Regions from separate parts of the Homo sapiens genome. Here region 1 is linked to region 2. The links are contacts of gene promoters, found by promoter capture Hi-C in blood cells and fetal thymus (Javierre and others, 2016). All regions are on one chromosome and are shown on one strand. The core of a region is centred on a gene start or on the middle of the fragment in contact, and the rest is flanking DNA. Distances in the headings are between cores, read along the strand shown. Region 1 holds the start of ENKUR (enkurin, TRPC channel interacting protein). Region 2 holds the start of IDI1 (isopentenyl-diphosphate delta isomerase 1).

Evidence for each region. Contacts are between HindIII fragments. The CHiCAGO score rates a contact against its expected background, and 5 or more counts as called.
Region 1: the fragment with the promoter of ENKUR here is called in contact with the fragment with the promoter of IDI1 in region 2 in 1 of 17 cell types (fetal thymus); the score reaches 13.3 in fetal thymus.

Annotation. Positions count from the first base shown.
Region 1 is chr10:25,014,757-25,018,288 of GRCh38, reverse strand. It overlaps ENKUR (enkurin, TRPC channel interacting protein), which reads left to right and starts at 2,131. Exons shown (of 6, transcript NM_145010.4): 1 at 2,131-2,429. The coding sequence starts at 2,353. It overlaps THNSL1 (threonine synthase like 1), which reads right to left and starts at 1,677. Exons shown (of 3, transcript NM_024838.5): 1 at 1,597-1,677. RefSeq lists enhancers at 956-1,035, 1,635-1,929, 1,240-2,002 and silencers at 1,286-1,365, 1,546-1,745, 2,076-2,125. The HindIII fragment of the contact is 2,880 bases long and covers 861-3,532 here.
Region 2 is chr10:1,047,022-1,050,634 of GRCh38, reverse strand. IDI1 (isopentenyl-diphosphate delta isomerase 1) reads left to right here and starts at 1,516. Exons shown (of 5, transcript NM_004508.4): 1 at 1,516-1,771. The coding sequence starts at 1,632. RefSeq lists enhancers at 868-1,007, 679-1,208, 1,468-1,517, 1,209-1,738, 1,739-2,269 and silencers at 1,608-1,827, 1,838-1,927. The HindIII fragment of the contact is 1,083 bases long and covers 501-1,583 here.

The sequences.
Region 1 (3,532 bases), core at 882-3,381, about 24 Mb before region 2:
AACTAGAAATAATTTTGCTTAAACACACTTTCAAAAGGCAAGGAGAATTGCAGATCAAATGTCTAAGAAAAAAGAAAAGTTTTTTTCCAAATGATTTAACAACCTGCTCATGGCTGTAAACTAACTATACCACAGTGAGGTCTTGCACAAATTGTTTAGCATTTTTTAAAGCATAATAAATATACAGACATCAGTGAAATTATTTTATTTCAGTAACCCCAGAACATCAAGGCTACCAAAGGCCAGTTGGTGCTAACTGCAGAAATCATGTTTTGCCCTTACTTGCTATTTCAGGAACTGATTAACACAAATAGTCTCAAGGTGTTCCTTCTAATTAGAAAATTCATAAGCTTTAGCCAGTGACTATCCACTTGGCTAATGGCGTTATCATTCCATGAGTCCTTGGTTCGAATCTTCGTACATACAGGAGGTTTCCCGCCAAATTTTTTCTCTATACTTGCTAAACAGAAATCCCAAACATAAAATACTCAAGGGCGAAAAGAAAGGGGCAAAGTGATATAGATTTGGATCTAGATCTAAATATAGATCTACAGATCCATCTATCTAAAATGTTTTGGAAGACAATCTGATGTGAAGAAATCTGGAGAATTTTCCCTAAGCGTCTGGGACAAAAATTAAAATCAACTGTATACAAAAAAAAAAAAAAGAAAAACTTAACGTATTCTTATGTAGTGAAATTCAGTAAGAGCCCAAAGTAAGGACCTACACATTCAGTAAAGCCTTTTTATACAGGAACTAAAAGGTTCACCAGGCCATTGTGTTGTTTTAATCACTCCGCCAGCCAACCAGGCAGTGAGAAACCCAGACTCAAGTGTGTTTTCTCTCCTCTCCGGGAAGCTTTATTTCCTTCGGGCAGAGTGGCCTCTGTACCGGTGGTTCAGAGGCATCCATCTTCCTCCCCAAATCCTATTACCAAAATGTCTTTTAAACACTCGGGTAAAAGCGTCTAAATGACTTTCCTACGGCAGGCCCATGTGCATAGATTTACGGGTGACCAGGTGGAACAAAAAGGAATAAAACCGCTTCTCAGAAGACAATTTTCCAACAAGGGACACCAAAAACTGGACAAAAACGTAAAGGCCCACTTAAAAGGCTTCTCCTCTTAGTTTAGGCTGCTCATTTACAAAGAGCAGGTCCACTGGTTCCTGGAGAACGACCTAGAGGAAGAGTCCCGACCCGGGGAAGAGCAGGCGCAGAGCCGACCCGGAGGACCGCCCAAGGGGCGGTCCCGGGAGCAGGGGCGGGAGGGCGAGCGCAGCAGGCGGAGGAGGCCGCGGGCCCCGTGCGCGCACTCACACACGTGGCGGGCAGGGCTGCGCGGCGTTCCGAGGAGCCTCGACCAGAAGCAGCAGGAAAAATGCGCGCAGAGTTGAGATGACCAGCGAGTAGCGGAAAGGGGAAGGGACGGTACGGGGAAAGGCATGCGATGGGAGCGGGCTGGCTTCTAGTTTTCCTTCCTTTCTCCTCCAATAACTCACCAAGGAAATCTCACTGAGAAGACGGGGGAAATGAAAGGAAATGGGGGAGCAGTGTCCACGAGCCGCTAAAGCCTCCACAGGAGACGGAGCACCGTACCTGCAGCTAGCTCCCCGGTCCCGCCCCCGCGCAGTGGACTCTGCGCCTGTGCCTGCGGCGGCCAGCGTGCCTCCGCTCCACGCCCTTCCCCGAGCGGCCTCGCGCAGGGCACGTGACTCTCCTTTCTCACTGTAGCCTATCCGAGCACTCCGATCTCCTCAGGCTCCTCCCCTCCCTCGTCTCCCTGGCGGCGCTGGCCTTGCGTCCTCGTGGTCTCAGCCGCTCGCTCCGCCCACACCGCGATTGGGGCCTGCTCACAAAAACCTTATTGGGTGACGCCTGCGCACCAGCTGCGCTTTGCCGTCTCTACTAGGATTTTTCTTTTTTCCCCAGATACACAGAAATAGAAAAGAGCACAGTTTTTAAGGGGACATCATTTTCACCCCGTTAACTTTCAAAGGCACGTAAAAACAGTGGCTTCCAAATGAGCTTCTCTAGCAGAAGGCGCTGCAGAAAGAGGGAAGAGGGGAGACCTAGTTTGCGGTGCTGCCTGCCACTTCCTCGTTGCCTAGTAACGGTTTCCACGGCAACCGCACAGTCAACGACGCTTAGCAATCCGGAGAGAAATAGGGTGTTTTCTTCCCGAGAGAGGACTGCTAAGAGGGGGTTAAAGGGGGACGATGTGAAGGAGAGAACCTGTGGTCCTTCAGAAGGCGAAGAAGAAAGAAAGGGGAAGCAGTGAAGAAAGGGACGGAGATACTGGGACAGGGAGAAAAAAGTTGTGGAGAGTAGCTTTTAAGGAGTCATTTGGTGGCCATGGATCCAACGTGCTCTTCTGAGTGCATTTATAACCTCATACCCAGTGACTTGAAGGAGCCTCCCCAGCCTCCTAGGTATGTGGATAAGCAAAGACTATCACTTGAAACAAGAATGGGGAATACTCAGTATTAATTAAGCATACATATACTGGAATTTTTAATAATAAATAAAATGTATTTTTGCCTCGATGAAGTAGCCTTGGAGGATAACTTGTTAGAGAAAAGGTCGAAATATCTAGGTATTCAGCATCTCACAGTTTTACAGAGAGGGCAGTCTGGCGCTGTGAGATGACCATTTTATTATATTACACTTAACCTCTTATTAATACGGTATGTGATTATTGTGTAATTTAATTATATGTGATATACAGCATAGTATGAAGTTTCATGTTGAAAAGAAAAAAATCACAATTCTATTATCTTGTTTAAGGATACTTGATGTTTGGTTTCAGGAGTTCGGTGTTGTATTTCTAACTGCACTACTCCCTCTCTAATGGGATAGGATAGGACTTTTCCCCCAAGATTTTTATGAAATATAAATTTACATTTGCTTTTGAGCCTCAGGTTTTTGATCAGTGAAACGAAATATCTACCACTATTAGGCAGTTTCTAAGGACTTTTTCAGATCTAATGGTTTAAATGGAAGGAAGAATTGGTGGATAGATAATGAACCAAAAAATATGTAATTGAGTTGAAATTTTACATAGGTCTTAGAACCTCTTAAATTCTCCAAATCTCAAAAACGTGCAAAGGAAGCACTTCAGTTACTCCCATCTGTAGGGACTTCTTAGAACTTACTTAAATCTGTGGGGAGCAAAGAAAGTAGTGGAGAAAATCTCATTTCTCCTAGGACTTGAAATGTTTCCTGTCTTTTACCATCATCCTTGTCCGTATGCAAGTCAAAACCACATTTGAAAAGGACTGGACTAAAAATCGGGCCTAGCAATTAATTGTCTTTGTGAACTTTAGAATAAAGTTTCATTTGTTTACTGATCTGTGAGATAAATGTACCAGATAATATCCAAGGCCCCTTTTAGATCTAATGGTCAATTATTTTTACTAGTATTAGGGTAATAGCTTCAACAAGTAGGCAGCTTCTTCAATTTTAAGTATCTGGTTTAAATTAGAGCAGTAACTGTATTACATCTCCATTAGCATATCAACATCTAGAGACTGGA
Region 2 (3,613 bases), core at 267-2,766:
CAGGCTTCAGCTACACATGACCCAGAACTGGAATAATTAAGTAATAATTATCTTTTTATTCATCTTTCTTAAATGTATGTATAGCTCACATTTATTTCAATGTTTAATATTAGAATACTTTGGCCTTTAGAAGCTTAGTGATTTTTTTTTTCCTTGGCCAGAAGTATGCTTTAGGAACTTAATCCTTATTTTTTAGCCTCTGGTAAAATTGGTTTTGCTATACGTTGTTTCACTTAAAAGTCCTGATTCCCAAGAACGCACTGACAGCAGTGAGGACTTGCTGCGCATGCGGGAGGCCAGATTTTCTTATCTGTGTGAAGCCAGACATGAAAGAGATCTGTCAACACATAAAACAAAATCAAAGTCTGTTTTTTGTCTGGAAAAGATTTTTAATAAAAATATAACTTATGTTAGTGTCGTGTGTTTTTTAAGTGAATATTTTAATATGTTTAATTTCTATGTTAGTAAATAGCAGTAGTAAACAACAGTGAGCAAAAGCTTTTAGGTGTCCTCAGTACATTTTAAGAGAGTGCAAGCGTCCTGTGACCAAGAAGTTTGAGAACTGGTGCCCACCAGGTTCATCTCACAAGTTCAGTATTTTAAATTCCACACAAAAGGTAGAGGAAATAGCTGAATTCGCTTCAGCTGCGCATACATTTCACGATTATTTAAAAGTTTAGAGGGCTAGGCGCGGTGGCTCACACCCGGAATCTCAGCACTTCGGTAAGCTGAGCCAGGTGGATCACTTGAGGTCAGGAGTTCCAGACCAGCCTGACCAACATGCGGAAACCCGTCTCTACTAAAAATACGAAATAAGCCGGGCGTGGTGGCGCATGCCTGTAATTCCAGCTACTTGGGAGGCTGAGACGGGACAATTGCCTGAACCCGGGCGGCGGAGGTTGCTGTGAGCGGAGACTGCACCATTGCACTCAAGCCTGGGCAACAAGAATGAAACTGTCTCAAAAAAAAAAAATTTAGAACGTAGTCATGTACCTCGAAAGCGAACACTCCCAACATAGCGTGGAACACCCCACACCCCCGGCGACTTTGCTCCGCCTTGGTCCCGGTCGCAGACACCGCAGAAAGGCCATCGTTCTAGACATACGAGAACTCCCCGTGCAGCCAAACGCTGTAGTCCCAGCGGCGGAACTCGGGGGGGGGGAGGGGGGGGAGTGCCCAACCAGCCAGTCAGCAGTGACGTCCCGCCTTTCCTCCGTTTCCATTGGTCCAGCCATGCGGAGGTCGCTCCCATGGGACGCCGAGCTTCCGGCTGCAGGGCTTGGCGCCCGGGCGCTTTCGGATTGGGAGGGCTTCCTCCATGGAACGCGAGCCTCGAGACGTCTGACGTTAGGCACCGTTCGCAGCGCCTCGGGCTCGCACGGCAGGATCGAAAGCGTGATTGGCTGGCGGCGTCTGTGGTCTCGGGCACCGCCCAGTCGCGGGACGCTGCCTCTGCGGAACTGGGGGTGGGGCGTGTTGACCCCCTTAAAGGCGCCAGAGCCCGCGGTCACGGCTCAGGTTCCCGGTGCTTCGCGCGTCTGCCGTTGTCACAGGCCAGGGAGGTGGCACCACCAGGCGAAGCTTGGCGAGATTGTGTCGTCAAGCGCGTACGGGCGCCAATTGGCCGGGCGATGTGGCGTGGACTGGCGCTGGCGCGAGCGATTGGCTGCGCGGCCCGGGGGCGGGGCCAGTGGGCGGTGCGCGCCGCAGACTGTGCTCAAAGCGGGCGCCATCCGGGACCGGCGGTTGTCTGTGGCCGGAGGCTGATCAGGTACTGTGGACGGGCGGCGGAGTTCGGGAGACAGGGGCAGGGCGGCATCGGGGAGCTGCGGGACGGGGCGGGGAGGAGGCCCGAGGTCTGAGCCACCCGTGAGGTCTCGGCGCGGAGGCCTGGACAGCTGGGGGTGGCGGCGTTGGTCTCCCGAACTGGAGGGAGGCCGGGCCTTCCCGGGCTGTGGTGGGCGCCCGCGCCCCGTGGAAGGCGGAGGCGTGAGTCGGGGCGTCAGAGACGTTGCCATTCTTTGTCAGCGGAAAAGATCGTCGTCTGCGCACAGTCACCTGAGGTTTAGGAACTCGTGGAACTGGAAACCGAGTCGCAGGAGACTAAGAGTTGCGAGTCTCCCCTTAGAGAATTCAGAAACAAGCGTAGACAGCATCGTCAGAAACACGAGCGTGACGACACCGGCCTCCCCGTGCCGAGTCCACGCGTGTGACGCGGGTGCATACACCTGCGTCCGTGCAAGAGGGTGACAGCAACACACTCAAGGCGCTTCTCCTGGGAATGGAGCAGGAGAAGAGATGGGGAGCATCGCATAGATGGAACTAGACCTTTTTCTTGGGTTGGATGATGTGTTCCCGCGTCTACTACATGGTATTCTTTAAACGCATAAATAGACGTATTCATTTTATCTTGTGATTATGCAGCTTAGCTTTAAAATCTGAATTCTGAAAATCCTGAAAGAGCAATTGTCATTACAGCTGGGCGGTGGTGCACGCCTTTAATCCCAGCACTTTGGGAGGCGGAGTCGAAGGCTGCAGTGAGCCGAGATCGCGCCACTGCACTCCAGCTTGGGCGACAGACATAGCAAGACCCAGCCCCATCCCCCCGGAAAAAAAGTCATGTCAAAAAGTCTAGTAATTATGTAGTAACGAAACCTATCTTAGTGATCACCTAATATACAGTTGGCCTACTGTATCCTTGGGGTCCATATCCATGGATTTAACCAACTGCACATTATAAAATATTTGGAAAAAAATTTCATCTGTACTGAACATATACAGACTTATTCTGTAAACAATACAGCACAACTATTTATGTAGGATTTACATGTTTTAGATACTATAAGAGATCATCTACAGATGATAATTTAACGTTCGGCCCGCATCACTTAACAGGGATACTTTGGAGAAGTTCATTGTTAGGTACTTTCATCATTGTGGAAGCAGAGTGCGCTGACGCAGACCTAGACAGTGGAGCAGCTGGGCTGTGTGGTGTAGACAGACGGTGGAGCAGCTGGGCTGTGTGGTGTAGACAGTGGAGCAGCTGGGCTGTGTGGTGTAGACAAAGGACCAGACAGTGGAGCAGCTGGGCTGTGTGGTGTAGACAGTGGAGCAGCTGGGCTGTGTGGTGTAGACAGTAGACAGTGGAGCAGCTGGGCTGTGTGGTGTAGACAGTGGAGCAGCTGGGCTGTGTGGTGTAGACAGTGGAGCAGCTGGGCTGTGTGGTGTAGACAGTGGAGCAGCTGGGCTGTGTGGTGTAGACAGTGGAGCAGCTGGGCTGTGTGGTGTAGACAGTGGAGCAGCTGGGCTGTGTGGTGTAGACAGTGGAGCAGCTGGGCTGTGTGGTGTAGACAGTGGAGCAGCTGGGCTGTGTGGTGTAGACAGTGGAGCAGCTGGGCTGTGTGGTGTAGACAGTGGAGCAGCTGGGCTGTGTGGTGTAGACAGTGGAGCAGCTGGGCTGTGTGGTGTAGACAGTGGAGCAGCTGGGCTGTGTGGTGTAGACAGTGGAGCAGCTGGGCTGTGTGGTGTAGACAGTGGAGCAGCTGGGCTGTGTGGTGTAGACAGTGGAGCAGCTGGGCTGTGTGGTGTAGACAGTGGAGCAGCTGGGCTGTGT